Regions from separate parts of the Homo sapiens genome. Here all the other regions are linked to region 3. The links are contacts of gene promoters, found by promoter capture Hi-C in human tissues and cell types (Jung and others, 2019). All regions are on one chromosome and are shown on one strand. The core of a region is centred on a gene start or on the middle of the fragment in contact, and the rest is flanking DNA. Distances in the headings are between cores, read along the strand shown. Region 1 has its middle 42 kb from the start of GSTA2. Region 2 has its middle 9.1 kb from the start of GSTA1. Region 3 holds the start of GSTA2 (glutathione S-transferase alpha 2).

Region 1 (3,788 bases), core at 681-3,180, 42 kb before region 3:
TATTTAAATTGTTCTGTTAAAATGTTTCGATTGACATTTACCTTCTCTGTGAGCTGTATCTGGCAAATAGCAGTCTCAGTTATAGTTATGAGTTAGTAGCTGCCCTGTTTGTGTCAGCATAATTCATTTATTTTAGAAATTTTACCAACATTCTTATTGCTATGGTCTGAATGTTTGTGTCCCCCTAAAATTCATATGTTGAAACCTAATCTCCAAGGTGATGCCATTAAGAAGTGGGGCCTTTGGGAGGTGCCTAGGTCATGAGGACAGAGCCTCATGAATGGAATTAGTGCCTTTAGGGCCATTATAAATGAGGCCCAAGGGAGTTTGCTGGCCCCTTCTACCATGTGAGGACTCAGTAAGAAGGCACTGTCTGATATGGTTTGGCTCTGTGTCCTCACCCAAATCTCATCTTGAATTGTAATCCCCATGTGTCAAGGGAGGGAAGTGATCTGATCATGGGAACAGTTTCCCCCATGCTATTCTCATGATAGTGAGTGAGTTCTCACGATATCTGATGGTTTTATGTGTTTGGTATTTCCTCCGCTTGCACTTCTGTCTCCTGCCACCATGTGAAGAAGGGCCTTGCTTCCCTTTTGCCTTCTGCTGTAATTGTAAGTTTCCTGAGGCCTCCCCAGCCTTGTGAAACTGTGAGTCAATTAAACCTCTTTCCTATATAAATTACCCAGTCTTGGGCAGTATTTTTATAGTGGTGTGAGAACGGACTAATACACCGTCTACGAAGAAACAGGCCCTCACCAGACACCTGCCTGAGCCTTGACCTCGGACTTCTCAGCATCCAGAACTGTGAGAAATTAATTTCTGTTGTTTATAAACACCTCAGTTTACGGCATTTTATTCCAGCCACTGAATGGACTAAGACACTTATCCACTAGACTCCAGAAAAGTAATTTAATTTAGTTTGGCAAATCCACACACTATGACTGATTTTCAGTTTTATCTTCATTCTTTTTTTGGTACAGAAGCAGATGGATTTTTCCTCATAAGTTTCAGTTATGCTTTCAAATAGCTGTAGTGTGGAACCATACCTCCCAAAATACTGTGTCTTCTGGGCAAAATCTGCATGGAAGAGGGCCAGCCTTTGGATTCCCATTTCACCTAGAATAAAATCCATACTCCTTGACGGGACTTACAGCAGTGAGTCATCTACCACCTCCCACCCCCCTCCTCAAGCCACACCTCTGCCCTCTACTCTTCAGCCAAGCTCCAGGGGCTTGGGGTACACAGAGACACTGAGTACTTTCTCTCTTCAAACCTGTGAAAATGCTGGTTCCTTTGCCCCAAAACCTCCCTTCCATCTCTTTGCATACTTAGTTTTCTCTCAATTTTTATGTTTCCCTCACCATCCATCTAAAGTAAAGCTCTCCCCAACTACTCTCTATTATAGTCTGATATGGTTTAGCTCTGTCCCCACCCAAATCTTAAATTGTAGCTCCCATAATTCCCACATGTTGTGGGAAGGACCCGCTGGGAGATAACTGAATCACGGGAGCATTTTTCTCATACTGTTCTCGTGGTAGTGAATACGTCTCACGAAATCTGATGGTTTTATAAAGGGAAACCCCTTTCACTTGGTTCCCATTCTCTCTTGACTGCTGCAGCGTAAGACATGCCTTTAGCCTTCCTCCCTGATTGTGAGGCCTTCCCAGGCATGTGGAACTGTGAGTCTATTAAACCTTTTTCCTCTATAAATTATCCAGGCTTGGGTGTGTCTTTTAATTAGCAGCCTGAGAACAGTCTAATACATAGTCCCTGCTTAATTTTCTTCACATCCCAATCATAGGCTATAATTATTGAGATATTTATCACTCTTTCTTTTTTGTTTGTAGTCTGTCTCCTCCCACTACAATGTGAATTCCTTGAGGTCAAAGGCCTTTGTCCCATCTTGTTCAGCACTGTATCTCTGTCCTAGTGCAACATTTTATAGATTAGAACTAAAAAAATTATTTGCTGAATCAATGGATAAATGGAAAAGGCTCTTGCTAGTGATTCTGAAGACCTGGGTTCTAGGCTGATTCTACCATTGATCAGCTTTGTGTCCTTAGATAAATCTCAACCTCTCTGAACCCCAGTGCTTTCATCTGTAAACTAAAGGGGAGAACTAGAGGTGTTGAGTTTTGATGCTTGATTCTTCCTTCTTTGTTTCCTTACAATACCAGAACAACCAGTATTGAGGGCAACCTTAGAAGAAAGCATGCATGGGTCTTGAGGTAGAACAATAGGCTGAGGATGTATAATAACAGAATTTTAACCAGCTTCAGTGCATCCTCATCTCAGATGCATGAGTCCTGGCTTTCACCTACAATACGTAATAGCCACCTTCCTACTGTGTGAGAGCTGCTTCTCCACCACTACTGCCATCCTCTTCCATATCTTCCCCAATATTAGAATGACAAAACTATCACTTGAGGACGTGGGAGCAGCATGGAAAGAAACACAGATCTACAAAGACCCCTTGTTGGAATGTCCAGTATTTGTGAAGGTGTCATGATGGAGAAGAAGTTGATACAGACTGGCAGAGAGCAGTGGGGAGAACATTTCAAGATAAGGAGTGGAGTGCAATGAGTGGAATAGTGGTCATGCCATTCTGGAGGCACATCCAAGTTGCCCTGCTAAATACTGTGTTCACTACCCAATGTCAGCCTCGGTAATCTTTTCATAGCTTTCTTCACAGGACTGTGCTATGGAGGCAGGAGGGCTGTCCTTAATAACTTGTTATTTATTTCAAGAAAATCCTGGCCTTTTGACATGAAGCAGGACTGGGTGGGATCCATGTGACAACATGTTGGCAAAGAAGATATATAAATCATGAAACTAAGAAAAAATGAGCCACAGGAAAATCTGAGCACTAGTGCTTGGTGAAGGGTGGGAGACTGCGGCAGAAAGTTGCTGATGGAAAGGGAGCTTGGCCTGGTATTTGCAGTATAAAAGTTAAAGATAGACTGAGAAAAGACCTTGAAACTCATAGAACTAAGATGATTAGTTCATTGATTAAGAAATTAAAATTTGGCCGGGCGTGGTGGCTCATGCTTACAATCCCAGTACTTTGGGAGGCTGAGGCTGGAGGATCACGAGGTCAGGAGATCGAGACCATCCTGGCTAACACGGTGAAACCCCGTCTCTACTAAAAATACAAAAAATTAGCCGGGCGTGGTAGCGGGCGCCTGTAGTCCCAGGTACCCGGGAGGCTGAGGCAGGAGAGTGGCGAGAACCTGGGAGGCGGAGCTTGCAGTGAGCCGAGATTGTGCCACTGCACTCCAGCCTGGGCGACAGAGCGAGACTCCATCTCAAAGGAAAAAAAAAAAAGAATTTAAAATTCAAGACTTTGAGAGAGGAAGTAGAGCTAGAATGCAGACTACTCAAGTTTTGGACGTGAAAAGAAAGAAGGAAATAGCAAAAGGGAAAACTAGCCAAGGATAAAGAACTTTAAAAATTTGTTGTGGAGTGTTTCTTGGTTTCTTCTGAGGAGTGTGGGTGCATGGCTAAGAAGGTTAGGACAGTGGAGGCCTGGGCCTGTTTCTAAGCAGAAGGAAGCCTTCCAAAGGACAGAGGCAGCTGAAGAGACCAGCTGGAGAGCAGAAGGATTGTACAGCTTGCTTATGTACATAATAGATTTGTGATTGTTTATTTGCATCTATTGGTTTTATTACTGTATTAGGGGATATAATTGATACTTTAAAATATATGTGTATTTTATATAATGTATTATATGCAATATATTATATATATATGAAATATTGAGACCAGCCTGGCCAACATGGCAAAAC
Region 2 (4,075 bases), core at 745-3,244, 49 kb after region 3:
CTGGGATTACAGACACCTGCCACTACGCCTGGCTGATTTTTGTATTTTGAGTAGAGATGGGGTTTTGCCATGTTGGCCAGGCTGATCTTGAACTCCCGACCTCAGGTGATCTGCCTGCCTCGGCCTCCCAAAGTGCTGGGATTACAGGCGTGAGCCACCATACCTGGCGAATACTTTTAAATAACAGCTTTATTGACATGTATTCACATACTATAATTGCCACCCCTTAACAGAATATTATTCAGTAATTTTTAGTACATTTACAGAATTCTGCAAATACTGTCACTGTCTAATTCCAGAACATTTTTATCACCTGGGAAAGCAGTAGCACATGCTTTGGCAGCCATTCCCCATTGTCCCCTTTCTCCAGCCCCTGTCAACAACTGATTTCCTTTCTGGACTCAAATGGTCTGGATGGTTCATACAAAAGAATTCATGTTACATGTGGCCTTTGGTGTCTGGTTTCTTTTATGGAACATGTTTTCAAGGCTCACCCATGTTGTAGCATGCATCAGTACTTCATCCCTTTTCATAGCCCAAGAATATTCCATTGTCTGCTACAGCACAACTTGTTCCTCCATTCATCCATGGGTGGACATTTGGGTTGTTTCCACCTTTTGCATAGCATGAATAATTCTCCTATGAACATTTCTGTGCATGGATTAGTGAGGATGTGTTTTCCTTTCTCCTGGATGTAGACCTGGTAGTGGAATTGCTAGGTCATTGGTAACTCTATATTGGACTTCTCAAGGAACTGCCAGCAAAGGAGGAGACCCCTCCTCCCAGCTTTGCTGATGCAAAATCAGTCTGGCTGCTTAGGTCTGTATCAAATGCTGCACTTTAGGTAATCCTGGTATCTTGGGCACCAGCCTCTCAAACCTTAGTCAAGTGGACCAGTTCATACAACTGGCTGGAAACTTAGGTTCCTGGTCACCATTCTTGGAATTACTGGAACCTGAGATTCAGCTCCTTTGCAGCATTCTCTCCCCAGGCCTTCATCTACCGACTCTCAAACATTCTATGCCTTGTCCTAAGCTGTTGGCTGGAGTCCAGCCTCTGAAGTCCCGAGCACCTGGAATCATGATTCCCCATCCTCCTGAGTTCATGGTTCATCAGCGTTTGGAAACCTTTGTCAGGGTGCTGGATCCATAGGCTGCATTGTCTTCTAGAATCACACTTGCCTGAACCCTCCCCATATTCACTCTTTTCTCATCTCCATGGGACTCTGCAATACTGGACACCAGCGTATATGCCCAAGGCCCAGCCTGCTGCTAGTCGTGATGCTCCTTCCACGGTCCTGCCCACTCACAGAAGGACCGAAATCACTCTGTGTTCTCTGTTGATGGAAGAACAAAAAATATACTATATGGGGCTCTCTCCTTTATGTCTTTCCCACACAGGTTGTATTTGCTGGCAATGTAGTTGAGAATGGCTCTGGTCTGCATCAGCTTCATCCCGTCAATCTCAACCATTGGCACTTGCTGGAAGAACAAACTCCCATCTTTAGAAAATAGAAAAAAAAAAAAAGGCAGAGTGAAATTTCTATGAATCCCACCCTTTCAGGATGAAAAAGTGGTTGTGGAAATGACTAAATGTATAAAATGAAAAAAAAATTGCCTGGCAACTGTTCAAATGAAATAGGAACTTATTTTTAGCTTCTGGAAGTGCTTTTTCTTATCAAGCGTTCTTTTACTTTTTATACTGTTACTTCATTTATGTTTTTATTTCCCATCCAGCTACAGAATAGGTCGCTTGTATTGTCTGTGTTGATTTATTTTCATGATATCTTAGGAAGAAGTTGGGAGAGACTGCAACAGGTCACCAGCCAGATGCCATTTAACATGGGAATTTCTCAAAGTAAGTCTCATGCTGTTGAAGACATTAAACACAGTTCTGAGAGAAGCTTCTATGTAGGCTCTTTGTGTGCCCTTCAATACCCCCATTAGACAGTGTGTGCAGGGCAGGCTCTGTGTTTCTTACCCCATGGCTTCTACCCTGGCTCATGTCCCTCCTCACCCTGTGACCTGGACTTCCAACCAAGTCAACACTGTCTCATTATCTAAGCAGACAATATTGCAAAGATATCACCTTGTCAAACTTATAATAGAAACAATTCAAAATGGACCTATTTCAACTCCTTTTGTCTAAAACATGTCCTTGCGTGTCTTTGGATGGGGTGGGCTATATGAGATCCTGAGTTGATGACCACAGCTCACTCATGGTGCCAAAAGCAGGAAAGCAAGAAAAGGGATCCTCAGAGTGCTGGAGATGGTTCTCCAGCAAATACAAAGAGAAGTCTGGCCCTTTTTAGCCTGGAAAGAGTTGCCAGACCTGCTCTAGGAGCCCATCCTTTCCATTTTATGATTTTCTCCCTCTCCACCATCACCAACTACAACCCTACACACATGTAAGCATTGCTGGCTGTTCAAACCTCCCTGTGTACCTTCTACTAGATACCCTCCTCAGAGGCACTTAGAGACTTGATCTTACTATTTCTTAACTTTTCCAAATCTTTTGCAGATTCCAGAAATTTCTCTTCAAACTGGAAGCAGAAACAGTAAATGGGCTCTTATTAATTCATTCCATAGCACTGTAGACCTTTAACCTTGAATGGCTTCTGGCTGGTACATAATTTGGAAAATATAAGATTTCTGAGCTTGGCAGAGCACACAGAGGAGGCTGGTGGTGGCCATTTTGAAATTTACACTAGATCATCGAGAAAAGGGCATGGATCACAGCACATAGTCGCTCAATCTTCTAGTTCACTTTACTTCCACCTTGATCGCTCCCATGTCCATGATTAGGTCATGATTTGAGAGGGGATGTCACTGCAGTTAAAGGATCATGCAGTTCTTCTAATTATGATGTTGTCATATCTTAGGAAAGCATATGTCTCTGAGTGAGATCAGACCACAACCTTTGTGACCCCAGCATGGGTATGCCATAGGCCAGTGGCCACCAAAGATTCTGCCACCAAGGGCCCTCTGCTATAATTTACATCAGCTTAGTTTGTAGGAGCCCTGCTAAAGTTGAAATAGGTCATAGCTGTTGCACAGTTATAACTCTTGCAATTATAATTTTCCCTCCTGGAGAATATGGGACACAATAGAATAGAATTCTCAATTTCAGGAAGGAATTAAAGTCCCCACAGTAACATTATTTTTAATGAAAATCTCTGGCTTGTGACATGGCTGTGTGGGTTTAATATCACTGTTGTCATGTCCTGGCTTCTTGACTTTGGACACATTGTTAAATCTCTCTGTGTCTCAGTATCCTAATCTATGAAATGGGAATACTTATGGTACCTATGTTATAGGTTGGTATGAAGATTAAATTTCAAAGTCATGCAAAGCACTCAGAAAAGTAGCAAGTGTGTAAGTGCTCATTAAACATACACTATTAGGATTCTGAAGTATGGCTGCTATTTCATATCATCCTTAAAAAAATTAAATCAATCTAATATTGATGAAAATATACTCTATTGCTGATCTATATCAGTGATTTAAACTTTGAAATAAATCACACCTTGTCCTGAGTGTAGTCACTTTGGTTGGAATGGCAGCCAGCAATAAGGCTGTCTCAATCTGATCAGAAGCTCTGAGTGGATGCAGGTATTTAATACAACTATGAAAACCAGTTATTGCATAACAATGCAGTTGACTTAATAGGCAGAATCTATAAAAATAAAAGTCAAAGTAGACACTTACCAAGATTTCCTGTATTTCACTGTTGATATGATCTGGTACCAATCTTGACTCTGCCTCAAAATAGCTGTGTGATCTGGGAATCATCACTTAACATCTTCAAGCCTTAGTTTCCTCATCTGCAAAATGGGGATAGAATATTTTCTTAAACAGAATATTGTAATGTTTTCAAAATGCATGATACAGGGCCTGACCCGCGTGCATCAACATCAAGTAATAAATGGTAGTTGTGTTTGCAGTGGTTACTTATAGTTTAATGGAGTTCTTTACGGTGAAAGTTCAGGAATTTGGGGGTTTCTAGCTTGCTCCATGGAACAGTTTGTTGTGGATCTATGATCGCACAGGACCAGGATGTGGAGATCATGGGGGGT
Region 3 (4,138 bases), core at 1,101-3,600:
TTATTTCTACTTTTGAGGGTTGTTGAGAAAGTTAAATGAGATAATGTAGAAAAAAATCATAGTAGGAACACAGGGTGTTTGCTCTTGTCCCAGTGCTTGGAAGATGGGTGAGGCTCTGGACACATTGAGTAGCCCATGGATCTTCTTTCTTTGATCTATCTATCCACCAATTATTTTACCAACCAACAATCTATGTACATGTATCTGTTTATAATCTCTGTCTACCCATCCATGTATGTATTATTTTATCTATCAATCGTTCTATGTATCTATCTCTCTGTAATCTGTCTCTTCATCATCTATTATCTATCTTGTATCCATTTCTCTGGTTCTCTATATTTTGTCCGTAGAACTCTAGTAGGAATAAGATTTTATATGAATCCAGACTTATATCAAATCTGTCATATGATGGCTCTCTGTTTCTCTCTCTCTTTGCTTTTTAGCTCCTGTACAGAGGTCAATGATATTCACTAATCAGCCCACCTGGATTAACAGGAAGTTTTCAGTGAATGTCCAAGCAGTGGGGCACATCGGTAACACAGCCTTGCTTAGCCCCATGAGGTCATGTAGTCCCATGGTTCTCAACCAGGGGGATTTTGTTCCTCTGCTCCAGAGGACATTGAGCAAGGTCTAGAGACATTTTGGGTTGCTATATCTGCAGAGAGGGAGGGGGGCTACAAATCAGATAGGTAGAGGGCAGGGATGTGTGGGGAAAAGAAAGAGAGATCAGACTGTTACTATGTCTATGTAGAAAGAAGTAGACATAAGAGACTCCATTTTGTTCTGTACTAAGAGAAATTCTTCTGCCTTGAGATGCTGTTAATCTGTAACCCTACCCCCAGCCCTGTGCTCACAGAAACATGTACTGTGTGGACTCAAGGTTTAATGGATTTAGGGCTATGGAGGATGTGCTTTGTAAACAAATGCCTGAAGGCAGTATGCTTGTTAAAAGTCATCACTATTCAGTAATGTCAAGTACCCAGGGACACAAAACACTGCGGAAGGCCGCAGGGACCTCTGCCTAGGAAAGCCAGGTATTGTCCAAGGTTTCTCCCCATGTGATAGTCTGAAATATGGCCTCGTGGGAAGGGAAAGACCTGATAGTCCCCCAGCCCGACACCCATAAACGGTCTGTGCTGAGGAGGATTAGTAAAAGAGGAAGGCCTCTTTGCAGTTGAGATAAGAGGAAGGCATCTGTCTCCCGCTTATCCCTGGGCAATGGAATGTCTTGGTGTAAAACCCAATTGTATGTTCCATCTACTGACATAGGAGAAAACTGCCTTAAGGCTGGAGGTGAGACATGCTGGCGGCAATACTGCTCTTTAATGCACCAGATATGTTTATGTATGTGCACATCAAAACACAGCACATTTTCTAACCTTGTTTATGACACAGAGACGTGAGTTTGTTCACGTTTTCCTGCTGACCCTCTCCCCACTATTATCCTATTGTCCTGCCACATCCCCCTCTCTGAGATGGTAGAGATAATGATCAATAAATACTGAGGGAACTCAGAGACTGGCGCCAGCGCAGGTCCTCCATATGCTGAGCCCCGGTCCCCTGGACCCACTTTTCTTTCTCTATACTTTGTCTCTGTGTCTCTTTCTTTTCTCAGTCTCTCATCCCACCCAACAAGAAACACCCACAGGTGTGGAGGGGCAGGCCACCCCTTCAGGGATGCTTAGAAATATCCTAGAGTGGGCAGGACAGATCTCCGTTCAAAGAATTACACAGTTCGCAGCAACAGTCAGAGCCTCTTTCTTAGCTATTCTCTATATTGGCCATGAGTTGGTAGTACTCCAGAGACAGAATATGACTTGTCGTCGAGCTAATTAGTGGCAGAGGCTCAACTAGAATCTAGTCCTCCTAACATTCAAACTAATTTTTTCTAATTATAATAAACCTTAGTTTTGAATTTTCACAGCCAATATAGAATTACAGTGTCACAATTTACAATTGTGTGTTGACTATATATATAAAGAAATTTTTGCATACATTGCCACTTCTTCCAGCACTGATTATTCTCAGATTGTTTAAAATGCTACCATTTCTTTTTTCTCCTCATGTCATTGTTTCCCATACCTTTAAATGCTGAGGCCCTGGTTTTCTAAACTCTTCATTTTTACATTTCTGTAAAGATGTATCCAACAGAAAAGAAATAAACAGTTCTTGAACTGTCACCCAAACACACCAAGATGGCATGATATGAGTAAAAACAAACTTTTTCTTGTGCTAAGGACACATATTAGTGTATTTTTCTAGGAGGCTAGAGAGGAGGGTGTGAGGCAATGTAGAGAGATTTATAAGATCAGTACTTACTTTGTTAAATGCTGTCACCTTTGTGGCTGGACAACCGAATTCCAGGTCCTAATGTATTTATAAGCTCTTTGTTCCTCTCAATAGTTCCCTCCCACTGAAAGAAGGGTCAAGTTAGGGAAAAGCCACTCCCACACATTTCATGGCCAAGGGGCCACCTACTGGATTCTAAGACATGAGGCAAGTGATCTGCTTATCAGAAGACACTGGTTAATATGTTCCTTTTCAAGGTTGGTAATCAAAGTTTAAACAATACATTTCACCTAGATTTTGCTCTTTTTGCAAGTCAGCAGAAACTGGCTTTTTAAAGATACTTTTTTTCATGAGTTGGATGCAAAGACTAGGGCAACTGAAAAAACCCTATTGTGAGCATAGCTGGGAGAGGATGTCTGTGAAGGGCAAGCTGATGCCACCGTTTTCTTACTGGGTTGCCAAATAAAATATAGGACATCCATGTAAATGTGAATTTCAGGCAAACAATCAACAATTTTTTAGTTATAGCTATGTTCCAAACACGGTATGAAACCAGATTATACTGAAATATTATTTATCGTTTACCTGAAATTCACATTTAGGTGGGTATCCTGCATTTTATCTGACAAATCCGGGAACCCTATTTGCATATGCTATCCTCTTTGCGTCACTCAAATTGCCCATAATATAACAAATATGAAAGTATCCATCACCTGGATTCATCAATTGCAAATATTCTTTCTTCATCTACACCATGTAGGGGGTTATGTTGGACCCCAAGAAAGACAGGTCCATATATAAATCCCTAGATCCTGTGAACTTGATCTTATTTGGAAAAAGGCTCTTTGCAGATGTAATGAAGTAAAAGAATTTGAGATGAGATCATCTTGGTATATCTGGATAGGCCCCAAATCCAATGACAATTGTCCTCACAGCAGAGAGAAGAGAAGACACAACACACAGGGGGTGAGGTGCAGGAAGACAGAGGCAGAAATTAGAGTGATGTGGTCATGATCCATGAAAGTCCAGAAAGGCCAAGAGCCCCCCGAAACTAGAAGACGCAGGGAAGGATTCCTGGAAATCACTTCTAATCCAAACACGCTGGCACAATGACACACCAGGGAAAAATAATTTTAAATATAGTTACTTATACGTAATTCACATATACCATCTGTATCTTCGCAGCCAGGCCTGAGTGGCACTGAACGAACTGAGGGAAGGCTTATGCCCGGGTCCCCACAGAGCCTTAAGGAGGAGAGTGAGGATGAGCCAGGAGCACATGCACTGTAAGGGATGACAAGTTGGCCTGAGAGCAGAGGGTGGGTCTGTTTGCTCTTCAATATTTCCTCACCTCCTAGAAAACTGAGGGATCCATAGCAGACAGAAAGGTTGTTTGAAAATGCATAAGAAAAAGTGTTTTCATGAGAAATAAAATGGATGTCAAGGAAAAAAGAAAATTTCATTTTGCCATTCCCCAGAATGATAACTGTTTTCTTGTGCAGAATGTCAGAAGTAAATTTCTATACATGAGTTTTTGATAGGCAATTTCACAAATGTTGCAGGACAATTCTTGAAAAAGTCAAACAAACCACATAGTCTACATTGTACTTTTTACTAAATTTTTAATTCCAAGAAAATTTATGGGCAGTTCGGAAATCTGATTTCATATCAGATACTAATGAAAAGAAATCAATTTTAACTAAATCTGGTCATAGGCATTTTACTATGTAATTAGCATACAATTTTTAAAAAGTTTATTAACTTCACAATAGCCACAACCAACATTTAGATAAAGCAATTTATTGTTGCAAAACTTTAGAATATTGGTATTGCATGTTCTTGGCATCCA

What was found. The method cuts DNA at HindIII sites, captures the fragments that hold promoters and counts their contacts. A contact is called where the count stands out against the background at its distance.
Region 1: a fragment that was not itself captured here is called in contact with the fragment with the promoter of GSTA2 in region 3 in 2 of the 25 tissues and cell types used here (liver and stomach).
Region 2: a fragment that was not itself captured here is called in contact with the fragment with the promoter of GSTA2 in region 3 in 1 of the 25 tissues and cell types used here (pancreas).

What each region holds. Positions count from the first base shown.
Region 1 is chr6:52,719,487-52,723,274 of GRCh38, forward strand. No RefSeq gene overlaps it. Among named protein-coding and RNA genes, the nearest start is that of GSTA2, 42 kb to the right of the region's middle. RefSeq lists a silencer at 2,957-3,071. The HindIII fragment of the contact is 7,388 bases long and covers 1-3,788 here.
Region 2 is chr6:52,810,919-52,814,993 of GRCh38, forward strand. It overlaps the pseudogene GSTA6P. Among named protein-coding and RNA genes, the nearest start is that of GSTA1, 9.1 kb to the left of the region's middle. The HindIII fragment of the contact is 8,412 bases long and covers 1-4,075 here.
Region 3 is chr6:52,761,125-52,765,262 of GRCh38, forward strand. GSTA2 (glutathione S-transferase alpha 2) reads right to left here and starts at 2,351. Exons shown (of 7, transcript NM_000846.5): 1 at 2,320-2,351. The HindIII fragment of the contact is 12,217 bases long and covers 1-4,138 here.